2 separate regions of the Homo sapiens genome follow, and region 1 is linked to region 2. The links are contacts of gene promoters, found by promoter capture Hi-C in human tissues and cell types (Jung and others, 2019). All regions are on one chromosome and are shown on one strand. Each heading gives the region's core, a stretch centred on a gene start or on the middle of the fragment in contact. The rest is flanking DNA. Distances are from core to core; before and after follow the strand shown.

The links. The method cuts DNA at HindIII sites, captures the fragments that hold promoters and counts their contacts. A contact is called where the count stands out against the background at its distance.
Region 1: a fragment that was not itself captured here is called in contact with the fragment with the promoter of TMPRSS6 in region 2 in 1 of the 25 tissues and cell types used here (dorsolateral prefrontal cortex).

What each region holds. Positions count from the first base shown.
Region 1 is chr22:36,590,955-36,594,778 of GRCh38, reverse strand. All of the region lies in intron 1 of CACNG2 (calcium voltage-gated channel auxiliary subunit gamma 2), which reads left to right. Among named protein-coding and RNA genes, the nearest start is that of EIF3D, 64 kb to the right of the region's middle. The HindIII fragment of the contact is 7,923 bases long and covers 1-3,824 here.
Region 2 is chr22:37,107,396-37,111,228 of GRCh38, reverse strand. TMPRSS6 (transmembrane serine protease 6) reads left to right here and starts at 1,516. Exons shown (of 18, transcript NM_001374504.1): 1 at 1,516-1,726. RefSeq lists an enhancer at 2,785-3,286. The HindIII fragment of the contact is 35,568 bases long and covers 1-3,833 here.

The DNA.
Region 1 (3,824 bases), core at 848-3,347, 520 kb after region 2:
ACACACCCATGCACGCACACACATACGCACACACACCCATGCACACACAGACACACACACATGCACACACACACAGACACACACACAGACACACACGCGGGCATACACGGACCCCTCCCTGCTTCATCAGGCTGACTTCTCCACTTTGTGTCAGCTCAGGCACCTGCTCCTCCTCAGGAGGCCTTTGTCACCCACACACTCCCTCGCCTGGACACACCTTCCATCTGTGTGCCCCAGACACGCTCCACTCTCCTCTGTCATCACACACATCCTCTACACCACAGCGTGTGTTTTCTGTCTGCCATCATAGACTGCAAGTTCCTTGAGGACAGAAAGTATATTTTTCCCCCTCTGTTCTCAGCAGGTTGCATGGAGCGTGGCATACAATTGGTGCTACATAAATGATAGCTGAACAATTGTGCTGCCATAAGGCCTCATACCTCCTTCTAATATAGTATGTGAAGGATTGCACTCTAGTAAGTTCTGTACTATCTGTCTTTGCCCCTAGAATGTGAGCCTGGAAGGCAGAGATGAGATTAGATTTTCCTCTACCATCCCAGTGCCAGGCACTTGGCCCTTAGTCTCTACCACAGGGACAGAGGGTGCCTAGGAATGAAGCTAGTTGGGAGGAAAGTCAGAGATGGAGAGAGGTTCCAGATTTTGGAGCACCTGGATCCATCTGTGCCTGAAGCCATCACAACCCCTGGGGTGGATTACCACCAACCAGAAGGAAATACAATGGAACCCTAGGCTGGCCTTAGGGAAATGAAATCTCATTCATTTCATCACCACTCACCACTCTCCCCTTACTGGAGTGATGTCTGTTGACGTAGATGTCCTATGAAGTTCAAATTTCACCACTAATGCTTGAGTGCTGCTAGTGCCCCCTCCCCTCCTATACCTCTCCCCAGCACCACCATTAATCAGACTGAATCCAGGGCCCACCGAGCTCCAAGTGCTCCTGGAGACCCTGTGCTCCTCCAGCTGACCCTCACAGCCTCATGGCCACCAGAGGCGTTGGGACCAATCGCACAGTGACCTGTATCCCAGTTTACCCCATCACTCCTCCCTACTCATCACTTGTCCCTCAGGGCTGTGTGTCCTCTGATCTGGCTGGATCTCTAACTCCCCCGCCCTCCTAAATCCTTGCCATGGCACCTTCTAGAATTTAGGTCACAGTGCCAGCAGAATCCCCCCATTCTGTCCTTGCTCTAATGGAAATCTGGCTTTCCCCGAAGGACACCACCGCCCCTGCAAACTCTCACTGTCGAGAGTGTTTTACTGCTCACATCCCAGGCCTCCCTGGGCCTCATCGACATTTCCGGTCCATTTCCCTGCCTCCTCCCTAAACTCCCTGCCTCTGTGAAACACATCCCAGCCTACCTGTCCGACTCCCTCATGGCCGCCGCCATTCAGTCTTTGGGGAGCTGAGCGCTGGCTCACTGCCTTTGCCTCCAATGCTGCTCCCGTTATCATCCTTGCAGATTCCACAACCAGGAAATCAGCCCCTCCAGTCCCTGGCCGTGACCCCTTCACTCCAACCTGATGTGCCGGTGCTGCCTCACTGGTTGTTAAATATTGAAATACTGTTGTACCGATCAGTCTTACTATGTCAGGGAAGCTGGCTGGGGGAAGGGGTGGCTCCTGCATTGGGCGGGGCAGAGAGAAGAGAAGGGCTGGGACCAAGGCTCCATCTCCTCTCCTCGCTCCCCAAGGCTGGGTTAAGGACTCAGCTCTGTTCTCAGGTTCTATAAACTCCAAGGCCCGCCCCAAGGATGGGGGCAAGAGAAGAAGAGTCTCCCTACTGGTCCTGACTGGTGGGACTGGGCTGGGCTGGGCGCACACCACTGCCCTGCCGATGAGAGCCTCTACCCCTCTCACAGCCTCCCACTACCTTCCCATTCCCGGCCCTGACCTCCTGGGGCTGCTGGGCACAGAGAGGTCCTCTAGTCGAACCGTAGAGGACAACTTAGGAGAAGATTCTGCACTCGCCGAGGTGGAATGACCCTTACTCTAACAGGGAAGCTTGGGGAGCATCTGGTGTGGTTTCCTGTGTCAAAGCATGGTCCAGTCAAGCCATCATTTAGCTCATAACAGCCTCATCATCAAAAGATCACACCACTCATTTCTAAAAACCAATCGGTGATTTGGGGCTTATTAGAATAATTTGATGAATCATTTGCACTTCAAATTTTAACCGGGTAGGCAGTTTCTTAATATATACTCGATGTATATAGAAAACAACAGCGAATGTTGTAGTTTTGCCTTATCTATTAATTTGTGTGACCTTTCCAGTGCATACTTGAAGATCATCCCTACCTCTGCCTGCCCCAAGCCACCTCATTCGGGGTCTTACCCTTGCCCTTGGCATTTCCAATATCCACACCCCCTCCACTCTCTGTCTTTTGCATCCCACTCTCTGGCTACCACGTGCCACCGTTGCAGCTCACTCCCATGCACCCCCATTTCAACAATGCTTTGACCCCACCCCAACCCCAGGCTCAAAAGCATTGACTGCCCTCCCCGCTCCACCCCCCACCCCCGCCTTTGCACTGCCTCACTTGCCCTTCAGGACCTCATTTCCCTGTTTACCCAGCTTAGACTCCATATCCATCCTCATAATCCCTCCCATTCCACCCTCTCCCTGTTGCACTCACCTCACAAACCTCCTCCTGGTTAGACGCAACTCTCCAGCTAACTGCACCCATGCCACAAATGTGGCCAGAGAAAACCACAGAATCTCAGAAGTGACCTTCAAGCCACTGACACACACACTTCACAGCCTGGTCCACTGTCTCCCACTCTCGCTTCCCTTCCCCTGTCCTCCCGTCCCCAACCCTTCCTCACTCTCAGTTGATGATCCTGCTTCCCATTTCGTTGGGAAAATAGAAGCAACAGAAGAGAAGTGTTACACCCTCCCACCATGTCTGCCCATCCCCAGCACTGCACCCACGAGCTCTGCTGTCCCTCCTGGCACAGCACCACCCCCCTTGTGCTGTGTCCTGGGCCTCATCTCCTTGCACAGTGCACCTGTATTGCTCCCCCATCTCTGCAGGTCATCCCTTCTGTCCTCCTTTCTTTTACTTTTTTATTTTGATTTTATTTTCAAGACAGAGTCTTGCTCTGTCACCAGACTGGAGTGCAGTGGTGCTATCCTAGCTCACTGCAGCCTCGAACACCTGGGTTCAAGGGATCCTCCTGCCTCAGACTCCCAAGTAAGCTAGGACCACAGACACATACCACCACATCTGGCTAATTTGTTTTTATTTTTTGTAGATATAGGGTCTTGCTATGTTGCCCAGGCTGGTCTTGAACTGCTGGGTTCAAGGGATCCTCCTGCCTCAGCTTCCTAAAGCTAAGGCTGAGCCACTGCCCCCAGCCCCTCCCTTCTTCCCTCTCTACTAGAACATTCCCACTAGTATCATACAGGCTTTAATATCTCCCCCCTTAGGCCGGGCGCGGTGGCTCACGCCTGTAATCCCAGCACTTTGGGAGGCCGAAGCAGGCGGATCACGAGGTCAGGAGATCGAGACCACAGTGAAACCCCGTCTCTACAAATAATACAAAAAAAAAAATTAGCCGGGCGTAGTGGCGGGCGCCTGTAGTTCCAGCTACTCTGGAGGCTGAGGCAGGAGAATGGCGTGAACCCGGGAGGCGGAGCTTGCAGTGAGCCGAGATTGTGCCACTGCACTCCAGCCTGGGTGACAGAGCAAGACACCGTCTCAAAAAAAAAAAATATATCTCCCCCCAACATAGAGCAGCCAGCACTAGCCAGCTAGTGGAGGACACCCCAGTAGCACAGTGCAGGGAGGCAGAAGGAGGTT
Region 2 (3,833 bases), core at 267-2,766:
AAACCTCACAGACACACCTCTCACACAAATCTTATACCCCACACACAATCCCTACGCTCCACACACACACACACACACACACACGCACATTCTACACATACATAATCTACACACACAAATTCCAGACTGTCTCTCTTACACACACACTCTGGGACCCATATGCCCACAGCACACAGCATCTCAGGCGTGCACCCCGCATTCTGGCCTCAGGATGTAGACTCGCTGAAAGTCAGCCTTGTCTGAGACAGACGCCCGCTGCCCTGCACGCACCCTAGAAAGCCCTGGCTCCCATCCGGCACTTCGGCACGCATATGGCTCAAACCCATCTCCACAGCAACGCTGTTCCATAGAACAACAACGCAGGTCACACTTGTGACTTAACCTGTCTAATATCCACATGCAACAAGGGGTGTGGTGGCCCGCGCCTGTAATCCCAGCTACTTGGGAGGCTGAAGCAGGAGGATCATGTGGGCCCAGGAGCTCCAGACCAGCCTGGCAACCTAATGAGACCCTGTCTCTGAAAAAAAAAAAAACAAGAGAGCCAGAAGAAAATTGCTTTTAATAATACATTTTATTTATCCCATGATCACCAGTGTTATTTCAACATAAAATCAATATAAAAATTGTTATCGCGTTGGTTGACATCCTGTTTGCACTTGGCCTTGGAAACCTGGTGTGCGTCTCCCCCGTGCAGCTTTTCTCAGTTCAGACTGACTCAAGAGCCACGGGTGACCAGCGGCTACCGTCATGGACAGCACAGCGCTACGGAACCAGGTAGGAATTCATGCTGCGTGCGGTCGCTCATGCCTGTAATCCTAGCGTTTTGGGAGGTCGAGGTGGGTGGAATCACTTGAGGTCAGGAGTTCGAGACCAGCCTGGCTAACATGGTGAAACCCCATCTCTTCTAAAATTATGAAAATTAGCCGGGCATGGTGGTGGGCGCTGTAATCCCAGCTACCTGGGAGGCTGAGGCAGGAGAATTGCTTGAACCCGGGAGGCGGAGGTTGCAGTGAGCCGAAATCACACCACTGCACTCTAGCCTGGGTGACGGAGTGAGACTCCATCTTAAAAAAAAAAAAAAAAAAAAAAAAGAACGAGGTAGGAATTCAAATAATTCCCAGCTAAACAGAAAATAGCATCAAACCCCACCCCTGCCTCCCCTTTCTCCTCTCCAGTCCCCAGAGTATATGGGCCCAGCCTCCTTTTCTCTCTCTCAGGCCAGCAGCTCCTTTAGTCTCGCCTGTCCAGGTAAGCACCTGGACTCACCCTTGTGAGCCCCTGCACTCACCTGCACCGGCCTCTGCACAGTCCCCAGTCCTTGGCTGTCCCTACCTCATGCTCTCGGGGACCAGGGGCTGTAACCAGGCAGGCATGTCACCAGGCAACGGGCCTCGGGGGAGAGCTCAGATCTCCCGCACCTGCCTGCCAGCCTCTGGGGTGCCCATGCGGGGGTGGGGGAAGATGGGGCGGGGCAGGCACTGCCTTCTCCTACCTCCTGCCTGTTTACCTGTACTTAGTCACAGTGCTGTCCAGGACCCAGCAGGAGGAGTTCCATGGAGCCTGAGGCCACAGGCCACAGGGGACAAGGGCCAGACACCCTGGTCATGGCTCTAGGCCATTGATCCAGCCTGGGCTGGCTGGGTGGGGGTGGGGAGGCCTTGGCCTGGACAAACAGAGGCTCCTGAGGCCTGTGTGCAGGCCCGGCACCTATCTGCCGCTCCCAAAGGTAAGCGGGGGCCTCCAGGACAGGGGACCGGGATCTATAAATGACCTAGTGACAGTGTCCACCCTAAGAGCTGGGCCTGGCTCCCTGCAGCCTGAGCCACCTACCCTGCTCCGAGGCCAGGCCTGCAGGGCCTCATCGGCCAGAGGGTGATCAGTGAGCAGAAGGTGAGGGGCCCACAGAGCTGGGGAGGGGAGGGACCACGCAGGGTGACACCAGGTGTGTGGACAGGCACAGCATCAGTGCTGGGTGGTTGGTGGCCTGGGATTCAGGTGGCAGGGACAGGAGGAAGGGAGAGGCCACCCTACCCCTGCCTCGCAGGACTGGACATGCTGCCCCCTCCACACCCGGTACCCCACCTGGGCCTTCTGGTGTAGGAGACAGGCCCGGAGCCCCACATTGCACCTATGTACTGACTTAAGCCCAGGACCCTGGGCTCACAGGCTCAGAGTTGGCATGTATGTGTATGTGTGTTCGTGTGTGTGTCTGTGTAGGAAGGGCGTGCATCTATGAATTTTTGTGTCATGAATAGATGTGCGTATATCCCTCCGCGTGTCTCCATCTGTGTACATCTGTGGGTCTGTGAGTGTGTTTATATGTGTGGAAGGGACCCCCACCCAGTCCCCCACACTCTCAGGACTCTAGGGCCTAATGGTTTCACTGAAAGATGCCCCTATGGCCCTAGCCCAGAGTCCCTGCTCTGCTCTGCTCTGCCCTGGCTGAGGGACCTCGGGTAAGTCATGTTACCTCTCTCTACCTCAGTTTCCCCAGCCATTAAATAGAGTCAGCAAAGTAGGCACCCCAGGCTGTTGGAGGCTGCAGTGGAGTTTGCAGCACTGCCCAGCACAGGGCTGGCACATGGTAGGAGTTCATACGCAGTGGTTGAATCCGGATCTGCATTGCTGGGGGAGTCGCGGCCCCGCCCCAAGGAGCTCAGCCTCCAGCAGGCAGACCCGAGACCCTCCAATGGCCAGAAGGGCAGGAGGGAGTGAGGAGCAGGTGCCAGGGTGGGGTCCATGGTGCTCAGAGCTGGGGGACTGCTTCAGGCCCCTGTGGCAATTGGAGCACAGTCCCCGCTTCCAGGAGTTCAATGTGAGGGGCAAAGAGAGAGTGCCCACAGGTAAGCTGCACATCGCGAGGGGCAGCCGCCCCTTCTAGGGCACTCTGGGAGAGCTGCGAAGAGGTGAGGTCTGAACTGAGGTGACAGGGGCTGCATAAGAGCTGGCCAGGTTGGGAGGTGGGGGCCCAGGCAGAAGGAAGAGTGTGGGGACGCCTGGCCGTGAACAAGCACTGACAGGGCTCAAGGTCCACGAGGGCTCTTGGTGCCGGCTGGCTGCTCTTAATCCATAAATGTTTGCTACCATCCCATTGTTAAAATTTCTCACCAATGGAAGTCCAGTGTCCTTGGGGTGCGACGGGGAAAAGAGAGGGTGGGAAAAAAGGAGGCAGGAGAAGTTGGCCAGGCCACATATGCACACAGCACCTTGGACTTCTGTAGGGAGGAAGGAGCTGGGACCTTGTCATTCATTCATTTAACAATTACTGAGTGTCCGCTGAGTACCAGACTCTGCTCTCATGCAGCTTACAGACAGGGAGGAGGCAGATAAATGACATATTTGCATATCAGGCAATTTAGGCCTCTGTAATTGCTATAAAGAAAAATGCAGGAGAGACGGGAGTGCCCAGGGAAGGCCTCTCTGGAGAGGTGACATCTGACCCTTTGGAGGAGGTAAAGGAGGGAGCCACGAGGCCAGCAGAAAGGAAAACATCCCAGGCCCAGCAAGGAGCAAACCTCCCATTCAGCAAAGAGGACAGGAAAACTGAGACCCTGGGTCTTTAGGGACTGTGTTCTAGGTGGATGGAAGCCGTGCGAGGCTTGTGGGCAGGGCACATGGTGACAACACGCAGTGGCCATTGTGTGAGAACTCACTGGGTAGGGGGGTGGGTGATTGGCTATTGCAGGAGTCGAGGTGACAGATGACGGTGGCCTGGATGATGGTGGGAGTCATGGGGGGCCAAGAAGGGGCTGGCTTTGGGGGGCATTTGGAAGGTAGGGCCACAGGCTTTTCCAAAGGTGCTGGACCCTGGGAATGGGGGAGCCGTTGTATTA